2 separate regions of the Homo sapiens genome follow, and region 1 is linked to region 2. Evidence: promoter capture Hi-C in human tissues and cell types (Jung and others, 2019). All regions are on one chromosome and are shown on one strand. Each heading gives the region's core, a stretch centred on a gene start or on the middle of the fragment in contact. The rest is flanking DNA. Distances are from core to core; before and after follow the strand shown.

Region 1 (5,921 bases), core at 2,884-5,383, 820 kb before region 2:
TCTTAAAAGATATAATCTACAAAAGCTTTCATAAACTAAGAAAAAGACAACCCATTTAAAAGTAATCAATTGAGTTGAATACTCAATAAAAATTCCAACATCAGTAAACAGACAAAAAGATTCAAACTCTAATAATTGGGAAATGCAATTTGAAAGAATGAGAAACTACACTTTTTCACTACCTAGACACAATGAAATTAACAAGAGTGGTGATGTCCTGGGCGGGCGAGGACCTAGAGGAACAGGCACTCAAAACACTTCTCCTGAGGCTGTGAGCTGCCACCATCCCTTGAAAAAAAAAAAAAATGCGCTTGTATGTGATCAGATCAAAACTGCATACACCCCATGCCCCAACAATCCTGCTTTTGGGAATTGATTTACAGAAAAAGACACACAGGCTTCTGAAGACTTCTATTTAGAGCTGCCTGTTACAACGATACCACTTTGATCAGCTAAACCCTGAAAACAAACATGCACAAAAAGAGAAGTCCAATAACTGACTGCACAGCAGGGCTCTCTGGAAGAAACCAGCTCTTGGCTGAGTTGAGGATGTGAGGGAAAAGCCTGGCAGAGAGGAGCTATCAGAGCAGGGTGTGGCAGACAGCAGTGGCAGAGTGGACTGAAGGAGAGGGGCCTGCACAGTGAAGGGCCCAGCTTATCATTCAAGGCACCCCAGGCCACCATCCTGGCCCTGCTTTTCATGACCTTCACGGATATGGGAAAGTCACTTGACCCGTTAGACCTCGGTTGCCTCTTTGATCAAACGGGTATCAGAAATCCAAAATTCCAAAATCCACAGATCCAAAGAGCTCCAAAGTCAAGCCATCCCCAAGCTCATTGGGCAGGAAAACCTGACCTGTGTTGGTGGGAGATGACTTACAGACATGACTGACACGCTTGGTGTGAACGTTCACATACTTCCCTGCAGAAAAGTTAACCAGGCTGCTGCACACTGCTGTGCTGAGCACTGAGGGTGCCGTGTGCCCTGTGGAGTAGAGATCATATTGCCTTTGCAACTGAAAAATCCTGAATCTCAACACACACCTGGCTCCGAGGGGATCGAGTTGGTGCTTGGTGACCCACAGTGCCAGATGCTGGTGTACAGCGTGGGGCCTGCTGCTGCTCTGTGCCTGTCAATCATTTCTATTTTGTGTACTGCAAGGAGCGTTCAGAGGAAGCTTTAGATATGTGGGCCTGACGGTGGGAATAAAAATCAACTGCAATTTCAGGGAGGGGTTCTGGGGGCCACATGCGTTCACTCACTTTTTCCTAACCATGTGGGCTGTCTGCCCCAGGCCCGGCCCTGCTGCTATGCTGACTTCTTTCCTCTCAAACACTGCCCTCTAGTGCCCCTGAGCCCATTTCCCAAGCACAGGCATCCGCTGGCTGTTGGGCGGCTGCAAAGTACCTTGAGACTCAGCTGCTTGATCTCCCATGCCAATGAGCCTGGGGGTGATCTCTCAACAAGAAGTTGGCCGGGCACCCTGGCTCACGCCTGTAATCCCAGCACTGTGGGAGGCTGGGGCAGGCGATCACCTGAGGTCAGGAGTTTGAGACCAGCCTGGCCAACACGGTGAAACCCCATCTCTACTAAACACAAAAATTAGCCGGGCATGGTGGCGGGCGCCTGCAATCCCAGCTACTCAGGAGGCTGAGGCAGGAGAATCACCTGAACCCGGGATGCGGAGCTTGCAGTGAGCCGAGATCGCGCCACTGCACTCCAGCCTGGGCGACAGAGCAAGACTCCGTCTCAAAAAAAAAAAAAAAAAAAAAAAAGGCATTTTACCCAAACTTTACAAAAGGAAAATCCAGTGTTATTTTTAGAATGTTACCTATGGGGGCTTCCACTGCGACCAGGATGGAGTCACAGAGACTGGACTTGACCCCCCAAAAATAGAGTAAATACAAGAAAACAACAGTGGTCAAGACTCTACCAAGAAAGTGATCCCTGAGGAACGGGAAACATCAAGGCAAGCCCTAAAATTGCCGCTGGGTCCTGTTGCAAGTTTCTAGACCACGGGACAGGGAGGGAAGACTGAGGCGGAGCTGGGAGGACTCCGTGAGCAGAGGAGACAAAGCAGGGAGTCTGAGCTTTGTTCTTGAGCTTTGTTTTGAGAATGAAGTTATGGGCCGGGTGCGATGGCTCACGCCTGTAATCCCAGCACTTTGGGAGACCGAGGTGGGTAGATCACCTGAACTCAGGTGTTCGAGACCAGCTTTGCCAACATGGTGAAACCCTGTCTCTACTAAATATATACAAATTCGCCGGGTGTAGTGGTGGGTGCCTGTAGTCCCAGCTACTCGGGAGCCTGAGGCAGGGGAATCTCTTGAACCTGGGAGGCGAAGGTTGCAGTGAGCCAAGATCGCGCCATTGCACTCCAGCCTGGGCAGCAGAGCGAGACTCCATCTCAAAAAATAAATAAATAAAAATAAAAATAAATTATCTTGGACTTCCAGCCTCCAGAACTGTGAGAAATAAGTGTTTGTTGTTTTTGAGCCACCAGTCCATGGTCCTCTGTTACTGCAGACTAGAATGCCAGGGAAAGAACCACCTGGAGGGACTGAAGCAAATAGCGCCTGAGTTCTGGGGACTCACACAGGCCTTGACAAGGCGCTGTTCCTGCCAGAAGAACCTCATAACTGAAGGAACACTGGGTAGAACACGGAGAGGGTCTTACATCAGCCGTGGGGAATAAGCAGCCCTAACCTGTTAAACACTGTTCTGGTCCTGCCTGAGGAATCTTAAAAGCAAAACCTGAAAGGATCAAGCTGCTTCCAAGTAAGGTGACTGCATTCTCAAACAAAGCTCAAGAATATTTATAGGCATACAAAAGTAACGAGTGCTCGACAAGGTAATACTGATATTGTCTAGTATCCAACAACAAAGTCACCAAATATGCAAAAAGCAGGAAAATAGGGCACATCATGAGGATAAAAATCATTCAACTGAAACGGACCCAGGAGTTAGAATTAGTAGGTAAGAACATTAGAACAACTATTATACTGTACTCCATACGTTCCAAAAGTTCTTTACAGATACGGAAGATATAAAAAAACTCAAACTGGATATCAACAGATAGAAATTACAATGTCTGAAATAAATAATGTACTGGCTGGAACAGCAGATTTTTGTTTTTTGGGGGAGAGTCTTGCTCTGTTGCCCAGGCTGTAGTGCAGTGGCATGATCTAGGCTCACTGCAACTTCCACCTCCCAGGTTCAAGCAATTCTCATGCCTCAGCCTCCCAAGTAGCTGAGACTACAGGCACCTGCCACCACATCCAGCTAATTTTTGTATTTTTAGTAGAGACGGGCTTTCACCATGTTGGCCAGGCTGGTCTCAAACTCCTGACCTCAAATGATCTGCCAGCCTCGGCCTCCCAAAGTGCTGGGATTACAGGTGCGAGCCACTGCACCCAGCCCTAGAACAGCAGATTAGACATTGCAGGAAAAAAAAAAAAATCTGGAAGACAACATTAGAAACTGTCCAAATGAAACATTTAAAAAAATGATTTTTTTTTTTTTACTTTTTAGACAGGGTCTCACTCTGTCACCTAGGCTGGAGTGCACTGGCGTGATCATGACTCACTGCAGCCTCAACCTCTCCAGCTCAAGCGATCCTCCCACTTTAGCCTCTCGAGTAGCTGGGACTACAGGCGCACACCACCATGTTTGGCTAATCTTTAAAAATTTTCTGTAGAGATGAGGTCTCACCATGTTGCCCAGGGTGGTCTCAAACTCCTGGGCTCAAGTGATCCTACTGCCTTGGCCTCCCAAAGTGCTGGGATTACAGGCATGAGCCACCATGCCCTGCCCCAGAAGGAATGAATATATTTTTTTTTAATGAAAAGAACACTGGTGAGCTGTGGGACATTTTAATATATGTGTAACTGGAGGCCCATAAGGAGAGAGAAAGAAAGGAACAGAGAGAGTGTTTAAAGAAATAATAACCCCAAATTTCCCAAATTTGATACAAACTATAAAACCAAAGATACAAGAAACTCAACACACCCCAAGCAGAAGAAACACAAAGATAAACCAAGATACATCATAATCAAATTTCTTAAGACCAGTAACAAAGAGAAAATCTTGACAACAGCCAGATGAAAAACAAAAAGATTTTATAAACAGAGGAACAAAAATTAGGATGACACCAGATTTCTCACTGGAAACAATGTGAGAAAGCAGTGTAAGAAAATTCTTAAAGTAGCAAAAGAAAAAAGTAGTCAACCTAGAATTCGATACTCACTGAAACTGTTTTTCAAAAGTGGGCCGGGCACGATGGCTCACGCCTGTAATCCCAGCACTTTGGGAGGCAGAGGCGGGCGGATCACAAGGTCAGGAGATCGAGACCATCCTGGCTAACACAGTGAAACCCCGTCTCTACTAAAAATACAAAAAATTAGCCGGGCGTGGTGGTGGACGCCTGTATTCCCAGCTACTCGGGCGGCTGAGGCAGGAGAATGGCGTGAACCCGGGAGGCGGAGCTTGCAGTGAGCCGAGATCGCGCCACTGCACTCCAGACTGGGCGACAGAGCAAGACTCCCTCTCAAAAAAAAAACCAAAAAAACAAAAGTGAAGACAAGGCCAGGCGCAGTGGCTCACACCTGTAATCCCAGCATTTTGGGAGGCTGAGGCAGGCGTATCACCTGAGGTCAGGAGTTCGAGACCAGCCTGGCCAACATGGTGAAACCCCGTCTCTACCAAAAAATACAAAAATTAGCTGGGTGTGGTGGTGGGCACAGAGCAGAGATAGAACAGTATCATAAGGCTGGGCGTGGTGGCTCACACCTGTAATCCCAGCACTTTGGGAGGCCAAGGCAGGCAGATCCCGAGGTCAGGAGTTTGAGACCAGCCTAGCCAATATAGTGAAACCCTGTCTCTACTAAAAATGCAAAAAGGAGCTGGGTGTGGTGGTGCACGCCTGTAATCCCAGCTACTTGGGAGGCTGAGGCAGTAGAACTGCTTGAACCTGGGAGGAGTAGGCTGCAGTGAGTCGAGACTGTGCCACTGCACTCCAGCCTGCATGACAGTGAGACTCCGTCTAAAAAAAAAAAAAAGGTATCATAAAAAATGCTCAAACTTCCAAACTTCTCTCCACAAATGGTGCTAGAACAACTGGACATCAACATGCCAAAAATAAATAAATCAAATCTATACACAGACCTTAGTCTCTTCACAAAAATTAACTCAAAATGGATCATAGAGCTGAATGTTAAATGCAAATCTATAAAACTCCTAGAAGATAACATAGGAGAAAACCTACATGACTGGGTTTTGTGAATTTTTTTTTTTGAGACAAGAGTCTCACTCTGTCGCCCAGGCTGGAGTGCACTGGCAGAATCTTGGCTCACTGCAACCTCTGCCTCCTGGGTTCAAGTGATTCTCATGCCTCAGCCTCCTGAGTAGCTGGAATTACAGGTGTGCGCCACCACGCCCGGCTAATTTTTGTATTTTTAGTAGAGATGGGGTTTTGCCACGTTGGCCAGGCTGGTCTCAAACTCCTGGCCTCAAGTGATCCACTCACCTCGGCTTCCCAAAATACTGGGATGACAGCTGTGAGCCACCACGCCCAGCCGTGATAATTTTTTTGATACATCAAAGGCATGATCCATGAAAGAAACTTACAAGCTTGACTTTATTAAAATAATAATAAAAAAACCCCTCTGCTAGGCCAGGCGTGGTGGCTCACGCCTGTAATCCCAGCTCTTTGGGAGGCCGAAGCGGGCGGATCATGAGGTCAGGAGATCGAGACCATCCTGGCTAACACGGTGAAGCCCCATCTCTACTAAAAATACAAAAAATTAGCCAGGTGTGGTGGCAGGTGCCTGTAGTCCCAGCTACTCAGGAGGCTGAGGCAGGAGAATGGCGTGAACCCGGGAGGCGGAGCTTGCAGTGAGCCAAGATCACGCCACTGCACTCC
Region 2 (6,035 bases), core at 2,714-5,213:
GATGAGCTAGGGCTTTCCTGTGGCTTGGGAAAGCCTTGGGGAGGGTCCCCACTTAAAGAGAACCCTCAGTGCCTCCCCCTCTGGCCCCAGAAGCACACCCTCCCAAGGGAGCTAGCAGCCCTGGTCCAACCCCAGAGGATGGAATAACTAGGAAACAGAAGAGTCTAGAAACACTGGCCAAGGACTGGGACGGGGACTTGAACATCCACATTCAAATCGTCTCCTGAACTGGCCACAGGTTTAAAGGAAAGAAAGGAAAAGACCAATGAACGGATTTGAAATAGCTCTTTGGAAAAACAGAAAGGGGCAGAGTTAGGGTTACAGTGTGATCCAAAGTCAGAAAAGCTTGCATTCCCATTTGACCTCCCCAAACTGAAATCTCTGTGGCCTAGACCAAGGATCTCACCCCACCGAGCCCCAGTTTCCTTATCCGGGAAATACCTCACAGATGGGGTTACTATAAGGCAGCACTCTCTGGAGAAGGACCCACAAAACTGGTGTGCAAAGGGAAAACCACGGTTTGGCATGGAAAGGCAGGTGAGCCCCATCAAGCCGGGTGCCGAGTGATTCCCACTCTGGCAAGGCCCCTCACTCTCACCAAAGCTCTCAGGCCTCTCTCACCTCATCTCTTGCTACCTCCCGCGTGGGCGTCACACCTGACTGCCCTCAGCCGGGGCTGGGCTGCTCCCTCCTCCTTCCCGGAGCTCTTCGAGTCTGACTAGCTCCTCCTGGGTCCTTCAGGCCCCCACACAGACACCACTTCCTCCAGGGAGCCTCCCCCCCGCATCTGTGTTAGAGGCCTGCTCCACGCCGCTTCCACAGCATCCCGCAGTCACCCTGGAACAGCATGTGAGCCTCGGCTCTGTGACAGGATGTACCTGTTCAGTCATCTGCCTCCCCCTGAAACATGCCGACTTCCCAGGATCTAGCATAAGGCCAGGCCCAACTAAAGCTACTTGTTGAATTAATGAAAACTGAAGCCAGAGAAAGGTGTTCTGTTAAGAGCACTGGGCCACACATCCCACAAAAGAAAAAAAATGGGCAGGGGGACCAGACAAGCAGGTTCTCCTCTAATGGAAAGAAACAGTAGATGAACCAACAAAAGCTAATGGCCACAAAGATGGTGGTGACTCGCAATACACAACTCACCAACTCACAGCTCATGAGTCACAACAGAGCAAATAAGCCACAACGACACACCATACCCCAGCAGTGGAGCAAAGTTCTCCTCCTCTGCGCTGCTAACATTTGGGCTGGACGGTTCTTTTCGGTGTTGGGGCTGCCCATGCACTGGAGGACACTTAGCAACATCCCTAGCCTCCACCTCCACTCACCAGATACTGGCAGCATTCCCCCCAGTTGTAACAACCAAAAACATCTCCAGATATCGCCAATCGTCCCCCAGGGGACACAATCGCCCCCAGTTGAGAGCCACTGCAATGGACATTCCCAAATCAAATAATAATCGAAAGAACGGCCAGGTGTGGTGGTCCATGCCTATAATCCCAGCTCTCTGGGAGGCTAGGTAGGAGGACTGCTTGAACCCACGAGTTTGAAATCAGCCTGGGCACCACAGCAGGGCACCAGAGCAAGACCCAGTCTTTACAAAAAATACAAACATTAGCCAAGCGTGGTACAAAAACACAAAAATTGAGCAAGCATTGCAGGACGTGCCTGTAGTCCTAGCTACTTAGGAGGCTAAGGTGGGAAAATCACTTGAGTCCAGGAGTTCAAGGCTGGGCAAACGAGCAAAACCCAGTCTCAAAATCATCAACATCAAAACAGCTACTGATTGCAGAGTGTCATGTGCCTTGCATTCTGCCACAGGCTTCTACAAACCCTGCACTTAATCCCTAGATCCACCCTCTGAGGAGAGCAGTCTGCTATCCCCACTTACAGACGAGGAACAACTTGTCCAAGGTCTCGCTTGGCAGAAGCCGGACTCGGCCTAGGTCTGTCTGGCAAAAGATCCTCTAACAATTAGCTGGACTGCCTTCTCATGATCCCAATCCCAGAACTAGAGTTAAAAAAAAAAAAAAAAAAAAAGCATAACATTTTCAACAGCACAAGCAGCTCCAACAGCCATCCCACCACTAGTAAGCACACGTGGCCGGGCGCCGTGTCTCCATGTGTGTTGTGCATGTATGTAAACCAAGTCCTCATCCTGTGTTATCCAGGCAATCTCGAGTCCTTGCTGCATTTGCAGCGCACGCTAACAGTTAGACCCTCGCCCTTGGGCTGGATGAAATCCCACTGCAGTTTCTCTACAACTGTGAACCCAGTACCGCACCTGACAGTCTACGCAGCTTCCTTTCCTGAAACATCTTGCCTTTCAGGCGGGTGTCTATGGTCATGTCTGTGTGTACTACGAGCGAGCAAGAAAGACCCCAACCAGAGGTCCCATTCGAGGCCTGGATAAGCACGCCGGGCGGAACTACTCTGCCCCTCACCCTCCCAATACATCTGCACTCAGGACTCCGACCTTCCTTCCTTGACATATCTGCACGTGCTGCTCCTTCCCCCCCCGGAAGGCCCTTCTTCCCACTCTCCATCTGTCACCTCCTACTCATCCTTCCTAGACAGAAAAAGCCGTCCGTCCAGTCAGTCTCACCAGTGCCTCCCGCTCTGTGGCCCCCTGCAGCTCCCTAAGTCACCTCGATCACGACACGCAGGAATTGTGACTGTCCGGCTCTGCCTTTGTACCCCCTCCAGGGACCGGCCCCACCTCCAGGGCAGGGCCTAGGGCTGATGCCCCCTCCTCGGTGCCCAGCGCCAGGCTCCCTGCCTGCCCTCAGCAGGCTTCATCTCACTGAAGCAGGCCCGAGTGGTGGCTGCTCCAGAGAAGCCCCGCTCCCAGGTCCCTCGCACAAGAAGCCGGAGGCGGGAGAGGGTCGGTCAAGGTGAAAACAAGCCCCGCTCCTCCAGTCCTGAGCTCCGGGGATCTAAGGAGGCTGCGCCACGGAAGAGGTGGCGGGGCAGAGATCGGGGCGAGAGGGAAGGGTGTAAGCAGGCAAAGTCCAGGGTAACCAGGGAGAAAGACTCCTGGGGGGCCGGGGAACCGGCCAGAGAGGCAAGAGAGCGGAGCTGAGGCTCAGGGACTGGGGAGCGCAGCTGCAGAGAGCGAGTGGGAAAAGGCCGAGAGCAAGAGACTGAGACTAGGGTGGCGGCGGAGCTGAGGTGAAGAGATTAAGAGACTGGGGAGGGTCGAGGGGGAAGAAACGGGGTGCCGTGGAGAGGAAACCCGAAGGAAGGAGGGAAAGGATCCGAAGCAGAAAAGACCCGCGGGGGTCCCGAGAGGGAAAAGCCTGAGGGGACGCGGAGAGGGGAAGACGTGGGCGCCTGGCCCTGGAGAGAGAGGGTCGGGCGACGCGGGCCGCTCACCTGCGAGGGGGGGCGGCGGCTCCTCGCACTCGGGGCTCATCGGGGCGCCCCCCCCCGCCCCGCCGCCGGCGGCTCCGGCCCCTGCTGCGGGGCCCGGTGAGTGGGGGCGGGGGCGGCGTCGGGGACTCGCGCAGGCGCCGGGGCTCGCGGGGTCCGCGCAGGCGCCCGCGGGTCGTGGGGTCCTCGCGCGCCGGGTCCTGCAGAGTTGAGGGGGTCAGCGCCGGGTGGAGTTGCCGACGGGCGGGGGGCGTCACTAGTCCGCGTAGGCACCTCCGGGGTCCGCAGGCGAGGTGGGCGTGCGGGCCGAGGCGGGTTGGCGAGCCGGGTCGCGAGGCCCACGCAGGCGCCTCAGCCGGGAAGACGGGGGAAGTTGCCCCGGTTTCCACAGTCCAACCGAGCGCCCCACGGGAGGGGAAGGCGACCTCCTCCGCGGTCCAAACGGGCCGCAGAGCCGAGCAGCGACCGACGGAAGCCGAGGCCTACTTCCTTAACCACCCCTTCCCCAAAGCCGCTCAATCTCCGGGCTCTGCGGCCGGCCTCAGGGCCTCCGACGCCCGGCTCCCTCCGCCACTATCCCACAATCCCCCTAGCGCAGGACGACGCAGGAGGCCCCGCCCTCCCGCGGCTGTGTTGGTGCGCAGGTGCGGGGGGCGGGGTGCACGCCTGGGCGGTGCAGTGCGCGTGCGCCCGGGCGCTCCCGACACCGCCCACTCTTGAACCCCGCCGCCGCAGACGCGCTTGCGCCCGTTGGTGCCAACGGTCTGCCCCGGAATAAACCCAGACAGCTCAGTGAGCCGCAGCTGCGCACCGGCTCCGTTCCAAGGCCCCGTGAATATTCCGCTCCAGGATTTCCCTTCCCACTCGCTCCGTTTGGAAATCCGTTCGCTGTTCTGTCTCCTCTAATCATAGTGGAGCTTTGGCTCCAGGGTCGGGCTCTTGCGAAATCCAGACCTGGTTTTCGCTCCAGCCAAAGCCAGGCGCCTTCGTTCCGTCCGGCTCTCGCGCTTAGCCGCCTCCGAGCCTCAGAGGCCCTCAGTCGTTTCCGTCTGCTGGCGATAGTCCCGGCCGGGTCGCTGGTGTTGCCAGTTCCGCCCAAAGCAGCTTCTAATAGCATCAACTGAAAGAGACCTCCTAGACCTTGTGTCTAGATTGATGAAGGTCCCTCTGGCTTTGAGCCTCGGTTTCCCCAACTTTAATAGCTCCCCTCTCTACCCATGTTAGAGGCCTACTGTAAAAATCGTGTGGGCGCGAGGAACTTTTTTGTTTTTGTTTTTGTTTTAAGACTCCGAATTGGCCGGGCGCGGTGGCTTACGCTTGTAATCACAACACTTTAGGAGGCCCGAGGCCGGAGGATGGCATGAGACCAGGAGTTGGAGACCAGCCTGGGCAACCTAGGGAGACCCCCGTCTCTACAAAAGAAAATTTAAAAAATTAGTTGGGCCTGGTGGCCCGCGCCTGTGGTCTCAGCTATTCGGGAGGCTAAGGCAGGAGAATCGCTTGAGCCGAGGCTGCAGTGAGCCGGATTGCACCACTGCACTCCATCCTAGGAGACAGAGCGAGAACCTGTCTCAAAAACAAAGGGCCCAGCGTGGTGGCTCACGCCTGCCTGTACTTGAGCTCAGGAGTTCAAGACCCCACGCCTATAATCCCAGCACTTTGGGAGGCCGAGGTGGGCGGATTGCCTGAGCTCAGGAGTTTGAGACCAGCCTGGGCAACACAGTGAAACCACGTGTCTACTAAAATACAAAAAATAGCCGGACGTGGCGGTGTGCGCCTGTAATCCCAGCTACTCAGGAGGCTGAGGCAGGAGAATTACTTGAACCCGGGAGGTGGATGTTGCAGTGAGCCCAGATCAGGCCACTGCACTCCAGCCTGGGTGACAGAGCGAGACTCCGTCTCGAGAAAAAAAAAAAAAAAAAAAAAGAGCAAATTCACCCCTCCTTTGCCCTCTTTGTTCTATTGAGACCCTCAATGGATTGGATAATGCCAGCTCACACTGGGGAGGGAAGATCTTTATTCAGTCTACCGATTCAAATGCTAGTCTCTTCCAGAAATACCCTCATAGACACACCCATAATGTTTTACCAGCTATCTGGACATCCCTTAGCCCAGTCAACACCTGAAATGAACCATCACAGAGAGGCATTTCCTTTTCTCTTTTTTCTATAGAGATGTTTTGTCTTTTACCCAGCATTTGGCTTCCTTGTTTTCTCCACAATATGATGGCATCATTGCCACACTGTTTTAACACAGAGGTCAGGAACTGAGGGATAAGGATGTGGCTATAGTCCCTACCCTTCAAATGGAAGCTGGGAAGCTGTGGGGGCTTTAATGACTGAAGTCTGGATTTCCACCCAGCAGAACTCACAGATATACATTGTGTTTGCATTAGAATTGAAACTTTTTTTTAAGAGACAGGGTCTGGCTCTGTCGACCAGGCTGGAGTGCATGGCACGATCACAGATCACTGCAGCCTCGAACTCCTGGGCTCAAGCAATCCTCTCGCCTCAGCCTCCCGAGTAGCTGGGACTACAACTGGAACTTTTTTCTTGAGACAGGATCTCAGATCCTGCAGCTACCTCTCAATTTATCCTGGATTTAGGAAGAGGAGTGATAAAAACCAATCCAAATAGACTCAAAAATCCCAGATCCAC

The links. The method cuts DNA at HindIII sites, captures the fragments that hold promoters and counts their contacts. A contact is called where the count stands out against the background at its distance.
Region 1: a contact is called between a fragment that was not itself captured here and the fragment with the promoter of PPP6R1 in region 2, in 1 of the 25 tissues and cell types used here (dorsolateral prefrontal cortex).

Annotation. Positions count from the first base shown.
Region 1 is chr19:54,438,269-54,444,189 of GRCh38, forward strand. No RefSeq gene overlaps it. Among named protein-coding and RNA genes, the nearest start is that of LENG8-AS1, 7.8 kb to the right of the region's middle. The HindIII fragment of the contact is 7,065 bases long and covers 602-5,921 here.
Region 2 is chr19:55,255,054-55,261,088 of GRCh38, forward strand. PPP6R1 (protein phosphatase 6 regulatory subunit 1) reads right to left here and starts at 3,964. Exons shown (of 24, transcript NM_014931.4): 1 at 3,382-3,964. RefSeq lists enhancers at 55-104, 3,212-4,186, 4,192-4,391, 4,422-4,471, 4,552-4,601 and silencers at 2,044-2,237, 3,422-3,481, 3,652-3,751, 3,882-4,161, 4,068-4,362. The HindIII fragment of the contact is 34,304 bases long and covers 1-6,035 here.